Regions from separate parts of the Homo sapiens genome. Here all the other regions are linked to region 1. Evidence: promoter capture Hi-C in 16 types of primary human blood cells and fetal thymus (Javierre and others, 2016). All regions are on one chromosome and are shown on one strand. Each heading gives the region's core, a stretch centred on a gene start or on the middle of the fragment in contact. The rest is flanking DNA. Distances are from core to core; before and after follow the strand shown. Region 1 holds the start of ALOX15B (arachidonate 15-lipoxygenase type B). Region 2 overlaps CHD3 (chromodomain helicase DNA binding protein 3). Region 3 overlaps KDM6B (lysine demethylase 6B). Region 4 has its middle 6.9 kb from the start of CYB5D1.

Region 1 (2,700 bases), core at 1-2,500:
CCTCCCAAAGTGCTGAGATTACAGGTGTGAGCCACCACGGCACCTGGCCCTAGAGCAGTGTTTTTCAAACATCAGTGGCCACCAGAGTCATCTGGAAGGCTTGTCAAAACAAAAATTCCCACTCTACACCCTCAGTGTCGTAGTAGGTTGGAGGTGGCCTGAGAATTTGCATTTCTAATACGTTCCTGTAGACGCTGCTGATCCCAGGAGCAGCTTTGATAGGAGAGGTGGAGGCAGGGGCTTTTAATCTCTGTCATGACCAGGACACTCAAGCTGCCCCTCATCGTTTGGGCACACCCTCCCCCATCAGTAACCCCCTCCTCACTGGTACATCTCCTGCCGGGCCTGAAGCTCCTCCTGGCGCTGTTGCTGGAGCACAGGGTGGTGGTCTGCCCAGGACACCTTGGCTGTGGGAGAAGGGGAGTAGGTTGGGGTGGGGAGAGAAACTCACCATCACTACCACCAGCCACACAGTCTCCACGATTGCCACCCTCTACCAGGTCCCCTCCTCCCATAAGTACAGTTTCTCCTACACCAGGCTGCTACCTCCCGCTCCCCAAGGCTCCGCCATTCCCTCTCCTCTGCCCGCTACTCTGTGGCCACACCAGCTCACCTCTCCATTTCACCTGCCCTTCTCCCCAACCCCCAGTCCCCTACCCCTTCCTGTGCTCCCCCTGCAGCCCCAGCCCGGCCCGCCCCTCACCTGTACCCTCCTGCAGCACCAGGGTCCCCGCCCCCTCCAGCCACTGGTAGCAGGGGAAGAGGAGGTGGCCGCCCCGCGGCGGTGTCAGCTGGAACCAGCGGCAGAACCAGGCATCCGGGGCCAGGGGCCCCAGCAGGGGCAGCACTGGGGGCGCCTTGTGCACGCGCAGCAGCAGCACTCGGCCTACGTCCTCCGGGAGCGTCACCTGGAAGTCCTCCTCCTGAGGGGAGGTTAAGTATGCGTCAGGCCGGACCCTCCTGCTCGCCCCCTTCACCTCCACCCCATCCACTCCCACGCACTCACAGCGCCCGCAGTGAACTCCTTGCCGAGATTGTCCAGGGGCAGTGGGGGGCTCTCTCCCCGGGTCCCCACGATGCTGACAGACACTTTGTCCCATGTGCCAGCCCCGAAGGCTTCTCCGGTGGACACCCTGACCCTGAACTCGGCCATGCTGCCAGCCTAAGTCCAGCTCTCTACGGCGCACAGGGCTGCAGAGCGGGGCTCCCCCCTGGGACACGCCTGGTTATTGCCCCTGGTTATTGCCACTGACTCCAAGCCCAGTGGACTCCTCTAAAAAGCACGTCCGTTTCAGGGCGGGGAGGGGCGGGGCGGAGAGGCTGGAACACGCAACTAAAGTGGGGGTGGGCGGGGGATTGGCAGCGCTGGGAACAGGAGGGACTAAGAATACCCTGAGGTTTGGGGAACGGGGCCTTTCAGTGGTGGTGCCAGGCCAGAGAGCCTAGAGTTGGGACCCAGTTGGGGTGGGGGTAGATTTGTGCCCACCACGTCTGTTTGTTTTCCTTCTTAGCCTTAGAAGTCTATGCAAAAATATCACCCCATTTCCCACAACTCTTCTTGGGCCTGCGTTCATTATTTTTAAAATTTATTTATTTATTTATTTTTGAGACAGAGGCTTGCTCTGTCGCCAGGCTGGAGTGCAGCAGCATGATCTCGGCTCACTGGAACCTCCTCCTCCTGGGTTCAAGTGATTCTCCTACCTCAGCCTCCCCAGTAGCTGAGACAACAGGCGAGTGCCACCATGCCCAGCTAATTTTTGTATTTTAGTAGAGACGGGGTTCCACCATGTAGGCCAGGATGATCTTGATCTCTTGACCTCATGATCCGCCTGCCTCGGCCTCCCAAAGTGCTGGGATTACAGGCGTGAGCCACCGCGCCCAGCCTACATTCATTATTTTATTTCATTCAATAATTAATGTTCAGAACTACCTCTGTGCCAGGTGCTATGCTCACTGCTATTGATAAAGGCCCAGGCAAGACCTAGTGCTTGCTCTCATGGAGATTAAAAATCAAGTGTGAGGCCAGGCACAGTTGCTGGCCAACATGGTGAAACCCCATCTCTACTAAAAATACAAAAAAATTAGCCAAGCGTGGTGGCGGGCGCCTGTAGTCCCAGCTACTCAGGAGGCTGAGGCAGGAGAATAGCTTGAACCCGGAAGGCGGAGGTTTCAGTGAGGTGAAGTTGTGCCATTGCACTCCAGCATGGGCGACAGAGCAAATCTCGGTCTAAAAAAAAAAAATCAAGTGTGAGAGAAAATAAGTAAACCAACACATAATTTCAGATGATAATAAGTGCAATGAAGGAAATGAAACAGACTAATGTGAAGGAGTGAGAAGCAGAGGTGGGAAGGGAGGCGTTCAGAGCCTCAGAGGAGGTGAAAGGATCTGTCTGGGGAACAGAGTTTTGTGCAGAGGAAACTGTTCCTGAAGAGGCCCTGTGGTTAGGAAAAGCTTGGCTTGTTGGAGGAGGGAAAGGCAAGAGTGCAGTGAGGGAGGGATTTGGGGGAGAGATGCCAAGGGGAAGTTATGGATTTGGGCTTTGGGGGAATAACATAACAGATTTGGGGTTTTCGGTCTGGAGATGCTAAGTTTGAGATGGCCATTAGACATCCAAGTGGAGAACCCACGTCTGGGCATAGAGCTCAGGACTGCAGGTGTGCATCTTTGAGTCACAAGCACACAGGTACATCTATACCACA
Region 2 (2,700 bases), core at 58-2,557, 140 kb after region 1:
TTGGGCCCCAGGAGCTAGGAGGTGAGAGTTGGATCAGGTTTTTCTTGTACCCGGTAGTTCTGTCCACCTGCTCCTAGATGTTCTCTGATGACAAACAACCATGCCCCCAACTCAAAGCCTAAGTTTCCAATGTCCCCCAAGCCAGTCCCCCTCCCATCCCAGGGACCTATCACAGGTTTCTCAGGCCTCCCACACCCACCAGGGACCAGTGTATCTCCCTCACCATTAAACCGATCGATGGCCTCCTGCCTCAGGGCACCCGTGATACCACCATCGATGCGCTCATACTTGTAGCCTTCATAGTCTAAGAAGTCCTCAAGCAAGTCTAACATTTTGGTCATCTAGAGCAAGAGAAAAGGATGGAGTCTGCAATAATGAGGTGGTGGGATGCTTGCTTATTCTAACTACTCCTTTACACAAACTCAACCCTAATCTTTACACCTGAACCCCTGCCCTGTCTTAAGCTCCTCATTATTCCACCTTCTTGTCACACTCTCTTTTCTTATTTTTATTTATTTTTATTTTTTTTTGAGATGGAGTCTCATTCTGTTGCCCTAGCTGGAGTGCAGTGGTGCCATCTCTGCTCACTGCAACCTCCACTCCTGGGTTCAAGTGATCCTACCGCCTCAGCCTCCCTAGTAGCTGGGACTACAGGTGTGCGCCACCACGCCCAGCTAATTTTTGTATTTTAAGTAGAGACAGGGTTTCACCATGTTGGCCAGGCTGGTCTTGAAACTCCTGACCTCAAGTGATCTTCCTGCCTCGGCCTCCCAAAGTGCTGGGATTACAGGTGTGAGCCACCACGTCTGGCCCTCTTGTCACACTCTCTTGATTTAAGATTGTTTCTCCTAAGGCAGAGGTTCTCTGAGACCCATGAAAAGGTTTCAGGGAAATCCAGGAACCCCCTGAAAATCCGTACAAAATTGTGTCATTGTATGTGCAGTTTTCTGGTGAGTAGACCCAGAGCTTTCATCACATTTCCAAAGGGTCTGTGCCCTTCACCCTCACCTGCCAATAAGATGAAGAAATAATACCAGTCCCTAAGGAGGCAGATGGCTCACCCTCCCCCTTCCCTCATGCAGCTGAAAAGGAACTAGAGCTGGACCTCAACTTCCAGCAACCTTAAGAACAGGCATCAGAGGCCAAGAATGAACTTGCTATACAGTAATCCCAGCACTTTGGGAGACCGAGGCGGGCAGATCACCTGAGGTCAGGTGATGGAGACCATCCTGACCAACATGGTGAAATCCCGTCTCTACTAAAAATACAAAAATTAGCTAGGCATGGTGGTGCACGCCTGTAATCCCAGCTACTTGGGAGGCTGAGGCAGGAGAATCACTTGAACCCAGGAAGCAGAGGTTGCAGTGAGCCGAGATCGTGCCACTGCACTCCAGCCTGGGCAATAAGAGCGAAACTCTGTCTCAAAAAAAAAAAAAAAAAAAAAAACTCTTACAGGAGGAATCTCCTCATTTGTCACACCAGAGCAGCCACAGGAAGACCGTAAGAAATTAAAGTCTGGAGGATGAGGAGAGGGAAGAGGAAGCAGATGTAAAGACAGCTAAGGGCACAGGTCACCTGCGAGAAGATGAGCACTCGGTGTCCTTGCTCCTTCAGCTTTCGCAGCATCTTCTGGAGCAGCATGAGCTTCCCAGACGACTTAATAAGTGCCCCACCCTCATAAGCCCCACTGGGGAGTTTGGGGGACTCCTGAAAAGGGAGGAGAGAGGAGGAGGAGGGGGTCAGTTGGAAACATGCCCCCATATTCTTGCCACACCTAGAAGGCCAGATGCCCGGATCCAGCTTCCACATGTTCCCAATTCCTCCTGTTCTCAGACACCCAGTCCGTGGCCTTCCAGCCCAGCTCCACCCCTGTGGCTCAATACCCACCTCCCCACTACTCCCCACCCATGTTTTCTGAGAATGGGCGTTCGATCAGCTCCCTGCTCTGTGTATCTACCATAGCAGCCACGGGAAAAAGGTATGGATGGTTGCAGCACTTCTTAAGATCCATCATGATATTAAGCAGCGACACCTGGTTCCCACCACCTCGTGAATTCAAGGCCTCAAAATTTCGAGTCAGGATGTATTTGTAGTATTTCCTAAAGGCCAGGAAAGGGGTGTAAAAGAAACATAAATAAAGGAAGCAATTATGATATTGCACTTGGAACGCTCCCATCAATCCCCAAGCCCTACTCCAGGCAGCTCGTCTTGCATCTTACTTCTGCATGGGGCTTAGCTCCACCCGAACGATGAGCTCTGTCTTGGCTGGCATGTTCTTAAAGACATCTGCCTTGAGTCTCCGCAGCATGTGTGGCCCCAGCAAATCATGCAGTTTCTTGATCTGGTCCTCTTTGGATATGTCAGCAAACTCCTCCAGGAAGCCCTCCAAGTTGCTAAGAGCCAGAAGAGAAGAAAATTAACAGGTCGGCAAGTTCCTTGCCCCTGATCTCAGACTTACCACCTCAGATTAATCCTCTACCAGCTCATTTTATCTGCTCCACCTCTCATCTCTGCCAACTACCCTTAGGGAACCACTTACTTAAATCTCTCTGGGGTGAGGAAGTTCAGGAGATGGAAGAGCTCCTCCAGATTATTCTGCAATGGGGTTCCTGTCAGCAGCAACTTATGATCTATCTTGTAACCATTGAGAACCCTGAAAAACTAAAAGATGGGGCAAGGCAAGGCAGGAAAATGGGCTTA
Region 3 (2,700 bases), core at 1-2,500, 200 kb after region 1:
GCTCCTCAGGGACCTATGTTTTCTGCTCCCTTAATCATAGTTCTCTGCCCTTATGGACCCAAACACTTGGGGTCCCAATCTAATCTCTATATTCCCTAGCCTTCCGGCCCCCATCCTTCCCCTTGCCTCAGAGACTCAGGCCTCTAGCCCCCAGTCTCCATGATGCAATGTTCCGCAAGCTTCTGTGGCTGCTGATGACACTGCCCCCAGGGAGGTGCTATTTGTGACCCACCAAGGCCTCCTTCCTAAGCCAGGGTAGTGGTCAGCTGTAGGTGGTAGAGGTCAGGCAGGCAAGGCCCTTCTGCTCGGGAAGGGAGCTTCAGGCTAGAACTCTCCAGGACAGGGAGGCTCATAACCTGGGAGCAGAGAGTGTGTATCTATAGTCTGTGGCATCTGTGTTCTGCGGTTGTGCTGGGGGGAGGGACTAGGAAAGGGCTAGTCGAGAGCAGAGTGGGCAGACTTTAGGACAGACCAAGAGGAGGAGTGAGGGGGAAGCCTAGGGGGTCAGAGGGTGTGTGAGGGGTGTCTGGACAACAGAGTGGGGGAGGGGCTAACAGCCATTTAAAGGGCCAGCCCCAGAGCTTTAATCCCTCACCAGCCCTGGCCCCAAGCCGGAGGCTGTAATTCATCTGTCCAACAGCTGGGGTGTGTGTGTTTGTGTGTGTGTGGGGGGGGGGGCTTCCTCCCCCTTCTATTCCCTCCCTCCTCCTCCCCGTCCCTGAGTCCCGGAGTCAAACAAAGAACTGTAGCAGGCTCTCCCCAACCCCCTCCCTCCTCCTCCTCCTCCTCCTCCACCTCCTCCTCCCCTCCCTCCCTCCCCACCAGCAGGCTCCCTCCTCCTCCCTTCCGGTCTCTTCCTTTAACTACCCGCCCCCCCAGCCCCCAGCACTAGTCTCTCTCCACCCACCCACCCCAACCTTTTACACACCCCTCAGCCTAGCCCTGTCCCCACTAGAGAAACTGTGGAGTCCCTCTGCAAAACGAAAGGCTCCAGAGATCAACACGGGAGGGGGCTGGGGTCTTGCTTCAAAATCAAGAACCATAATACAATTATTTTATTTTCAAGGCCCACGGAATAGTCTTAGCTATTTCTTGTCCAAGAGAAAAAAAAATAATCCTAAAGAAAGCAATACAAATCTGCCTAAAGCCTTCATCAAATAAAATGCACAAAGCAGTTGAAGCTAATCCCCAGCCCCCTAACCCCAATCTCCAAATTAACACAAACTATCCACTACCCCTTAACAAACTCCTACGGTTACCGCTGGTTTGGAGCAGACCCACAGCAATAATAATAAACTAGTAACTAACACCATTTAATAATAAAAGTATTTCATAACAACAAGCACTCATTCTGTGTTCATTCTGTGCCAGGCACTGTGCTAAGTGATTTGCATAAATTATCTCATTTTTTTCCTCCCAGCGGCCTTCAAGGTAGGTGTTGATATTTAAATGTTCAAGATTAACATACGAGGCTCAGAGAGGTTCTGACCTCTCCAAGTCCTAGTAGCCACTAAGTGACAGAGCTAGAATTAGAATCCAGGTCTGATCTGACAGCCCAAGCTCTAAGGTACATAAAAGCACAAACCGATTCATTCCAATACCATCACCAACCCTGGGACTTAATAGAGAAGAACAACCATAGCAATCAACTGAGTCCCCCTCCACCAAGTGAGAGGCTACAAACCGATTCACCCGCATACACACAATAAAGACCCTGACTTTTCAGCCTAATACTGTTTCTTGACCCTTTTCCTTTCATTGTTTGCAGATGGGGGTGTGCCATTATGGGGATTTCAGGGATAAGCTGGTGTGTAGTGAACCCCCCCCCATACTACACACAACTCTTCCGTCTTTCAACCACTCCCACTTCAAATCAATCTGGGGAAGGGGGCAATAGGACACTTGGCCATGCAGCAGGTGGGAAAGTAAAATGACGGCTAGGTAGCTTTTTCTATGGGGGCGGAGCCTTGGAGGGGAAGCTCTTCTGTGCCAATCTAGGGAAAAGTGACCCAAGGCTCCCTCAGCCCAGCAAAGGGGCAAAGTCTTTCAGCCACACCACACCCGTGCCCCTCCCCCTCACAAAACTCCAGGCCGGGGTTTCCCACCTGCAGGATGCTAAGACCACGGGAAGGGAGAGGGGAAAGAGATGGCACGGGACTGGAACTGGACTCGGGGCAGAGGTGGGAGGGAATAGAAGGGGGAGGAAGCCTCATTGCCTGGCAACCATCCCGGGGCACGTGCACTAGTGACATCATCCCAGGCCACCTCTAACACAGACCTTTGACCCCTACGGGGCGGAGTGGGTGTGCTGGCTAAGCTTCCTGGAAACACTGGAAACACCCTTAGGAATTCTGGGAACCCAAAAAGGAGACATAAGAAGAAACCCAGGCGTCCTTATCTCTTTTACCCCTAATACGACTCCAATCCCAGGGACTCAGGCCTCTTGCCTGTCTCCTCCTCTCCGCCTGCAGCCCTGACCTCCCAACCCACATTTCTGACGGGAGTCGGCCCGACACGCCCCTCGGAGATACTGTGCCTTCTCTCTCCTGGGCGAGATCTCGGTGGGGGCCGGCAGGCGGGGACGGGGGCACCGGGTCCCGCGGGGCTCCGTCTTCCATCTGCAGGATCCCCCGTGCCCCAGCCGGCCGCCAGCCGGAATCTGTCTGGGTCCCCAACTCTCCCGCCCCTCCCCGCGCTGTT
Region 4 (2,700 bases), core at 1-2,500, 170 kb after region 1:
ACCAAAAAAAAAAAAAAAAAAAAAAAAAAATTAGCCGGGCTTGGTGGCGGGCATCTGTAGTCCCAGCTACTCGGGAGGCTGAGGCAGGAGAATGGCGTGAACCCGGGAGGCGGAGCTTGCAGTGAGCCGAGATCGTGCCGCTGCACTCCAGCCTGGGCAACAGAGCGAGACTCCGTCTCAAAAAAAAAAAAAAAAAAAAAGTTCCCCATGGCTACTGTGTAAATAAGGAAGCAGGATGACAAATTAAGAGAATCACAAACTTCCGTGAGTCTCCCATTAAACTGTAAGCTCCTAGAGGGCAGGAACTGTGTCATTAATTTTTGTATTCACAGTTTCCAGGACTGTGCCTGACAGATGCTCAGTATCATTTTAATGAATTGAATAAATGATAGGGCCAAGATTCCAACCTAGGCTTTCAAGAAAGGCTCAAGTATCAATGCCCTGTCTCCCCTACACACAACCCTTCAAAGACCACCCCTCCACTCCACCCTAGACTGGGCTGGATACCCCCCTTTTACCTCCAGTGCATCTCTGGTGGATTGTATTTTCTAAATATGCCCACAATTATGTCTCACATCCCACATGTTCTTCTTACAGTGTAATTCCGAGACTCTTCCCGGTGAGAGGTGGGAGCTAGTTCCCTTCCCTTGGAATTGAGGCTAGGTCATATGATTCAGCTTCCTCTTGGTTCTCTTGGGATGCTGTGAGGAAGCCCAAACTGCCCTGTGTAGAGGCCCATGTGGAGAAAAACTGATAGCATTGAGAGCTATGTGAGACAGCCATCTTGAAAGTGGATCCTCCAGCTCCCCACAGTCCACCCCTTTGGGAGTAGAAGTGAGCTGTCCCTGCTGAGCCCTACCCATATTGCAGATTCATTGGCAAAATACAGCAGTGGTAGGTAACTAGAATAGCATCCTATGTTTGACATGCAGGGAGGCGGTATGTTAGTTGGATGGGCTATGACTACCTTGGTACTCATTAGTTGTATGACTTTTGGCAAGTTACTTAATCTCTCTCTGCTTCAGTGTTGTTTTTCAGTATAAATAAAAATCGTACCTATGCCTTAAGTTTGTTGGGAGGATTAATGTTGGTAAATGCAGCTCTACAGGTAATACAGATGAGTCATGTGAGCATCTCCTCAGACATGCCTCTGATCATTCAGCCATCGCTCTCGTGATTCTGTGTGTCTTTATAGTACTTTCACTCTATTCATAATATGTTTATATATAGGTATGTGTATGTACAGGTTGAGCATCCCTAATCAAACACCCAAAATGCTCCTAAATCGGAAACTTTTACATGCCTACATGATACCACAAGTAGAAAATTCTACACACAAGTACCTAACACAAACTTTGCTTCATGCACATAATTTTTTTTTTTTTTTTTGAGATGGAGTCTCACTCTGTTGCCCAGGCTGGAGTGCAGTGGCGTGATCTTGGCTCACTGCAGCCTCCGCCTCCTGGTTTGAAGCCATTTTGCCTCAGCCTCCCGAGTAGCTGAGATTATAGGCACTTGCCACCACACCTGGCTAATTTTTGTATTTTTAGTAAAGACAGGGTTTCACTGTGTTGGCCAGGCTTATCTTGAACTCCTGGCCTCAAGTGATCCTTCTGCCTCCCAAAGTGCTGGGATTACAGGCGTGAGCTGCCACACCCAGTCCAGGCACACAATTATTTAAAATATTGGCCAGGCACGGTGACTCATACTTATAATCCCAACACTTTGGGAGGCCTAGGCAGGAGGATTGCTTGAGGCGAGGAGTTTGAGACCGGCTTGGGCAACATAGGAAGACCCTGTCTCTACAAAAAAATAAAGAATTAGCCAGGTATGGTGGTGCTACTCTGAGGCAGGAGCATTGTCTGAGCTCGGGAGTTTGAGGTTACAGTGAGCTATGATCACACCACTGCACTTAAGCCTTTACTCCCATTCCCACTTTGATGGATTCACTTCACTTATTCATTCACCAGCTTTTTGGGTTTTTCTTTTTAGTGCTTCCGGTGTGCCTAGAATACCTAGTACTTGGGGTGCATATCCATTTGTATTTTTGAATCCTTAATCTTTGGCTTCCAGGATAAAGATCAGTCAGGTTTCTAATTCTGTGTGCATTCTTACAGCCAAACCGTGTACTCTACTGACCCATGATCAAGTGGCTGTTCTCCCAACAGCAGCCCATCCATGTGGCCTCCCTAAACTTAGCTGTGGTGCTGGATGCATTAACCTTATCGTGATGTATGATTGGATGTTATAGTATCAAGACCAAATGATGGATCCCTTTACTCAGCTCCAAGGTACAGCCAGATTAACATTTGGTACAGTAGTAAAACACTTGAGACTCGTCATAAATTTAGCCCCAAAGGTTAGAGCTTTAGGAATTTCTGCCATGGGTTGCCATGGTTCTGCCACAGGCTGAGGCAGACCATTGAGACAGATGCCAGAATATTGGGACCACATTGTATTATAACTTTTGATATTTTACTTTTGAGGCTGTTTAAAGTATTGTTGTGTATGTGTGTGTGTGCGTGCTATTTCAGGAGTAGGAGTAGGGGGTTGGGCTATTTGGAGAATCTGATGGAAATTATAGCACCATTTTCCAAAAATAATACACATCCACAGACACACACACACAGAGTATTTAGAAACAGTTTCAGGATGGCCAGGTTAGTAATCCACCTGTGACTTGCTGTAAGGGTAGAAACT

The links. The method cuts DNA at HindIII sites, captures the fragments that hold promoters and counts their contacts. A CHiCAGO score of 5 or more calls a contact.
Region 2: a contact is called between a fragment that was not itself captured here and the fragment with the promoter of ALOX15B in region 1, in 7 of 17 cell types (megakaryocytes, M0 macrophages, M1 macrophages and 4 more). The highest score is 8.0, in megakaryocytes.
Region 3: a contact is called between a fragment that was not itself captured here and the fragment with the promoter of ALOX15B in region 1, in 1 of 17 cell types (M0 macrophages). The highest score is 5.1, in M0 macrophages.
Region 4: a fragment that was not itself captured here is called in contact with the fragment with the promoter of ALOX15B in region 1 in 7 of 17 cell types (endothelial precursors, M2 macrophages, naive B cells and 4 more); the score reaches 8.8 in endothelial precursors.

Annotation. Positions count from the first base shown.
Region 1 is chr17:8,037,609-8,040,308 of GRCh38, reverse strand. ALOX15B (arachidonate 15-lipoxygenase type B) reads right to left here and starts at 1,250. Exons shown (of 14, transcript NM_001141.3): 1 at 1,007-1,250; 2 at 704-923; 3 at 326-407. The coding sequence starts at 1,153. The HindIII fragment of the contact is 10,323 bases long and covers 1-2,454 here.
Region 2 is chr17:7,900,251-7,902,950 of GRCh38, reverse strand. It overlaps CHD3 (chromodomain helicase DNA binding protein 3), which reads right to left. Exons shown (of 40, transcript NM_001005273.3): 17 at 2,540-2,661; 18 at 2,220-2,393; 19 at 1,958-2,099; 20 at 1,576-1,707; 21 at 224-341; 22 at 1-14. Among named protein-coding and RNA genes, the nearest start is that of CHD3, 13 kb to the right of the region's middle. RefSeq lists an enhancer at 1-260. The HindIII fragment of the contact is 4,232 bases long and covers 1-2,700 here.
Region 3 is chr17:7,836,416-7,839,115 of GRCh38, reverse strand. The region is part of intron 1 of KDM6B (lysine demethylase 6B); the gene reads right to left. LOC124904106 (translation initiation factor IF-2) reads left to right here. Exons shown (of 4, transcript XM_047437265.1): 4 at 2,472-2,700. Among named protein-coding and RNA genes, the nearest start is that of KDM6B, 3.5 kb to the right of the region's middle. RefSeq lists a silencer at 1,328-1,477 and an enhancer at 2,348-2,397. The HindIII fragment of the contact is 2,138 bases long and covers 182-2,319 here.
Region 4 is chr17:7,863,584-7,866,283 of GRCh38, reverse strand. It overlaps a transcript of NAA38 not described here. Among named protein-coding and RNA genes, the nearest start is that of CYB5D1, 6.9 kb to the right of the region's middle. The HindIII fragment of the contact is 3,079 bases long and covers 1-2,700 here.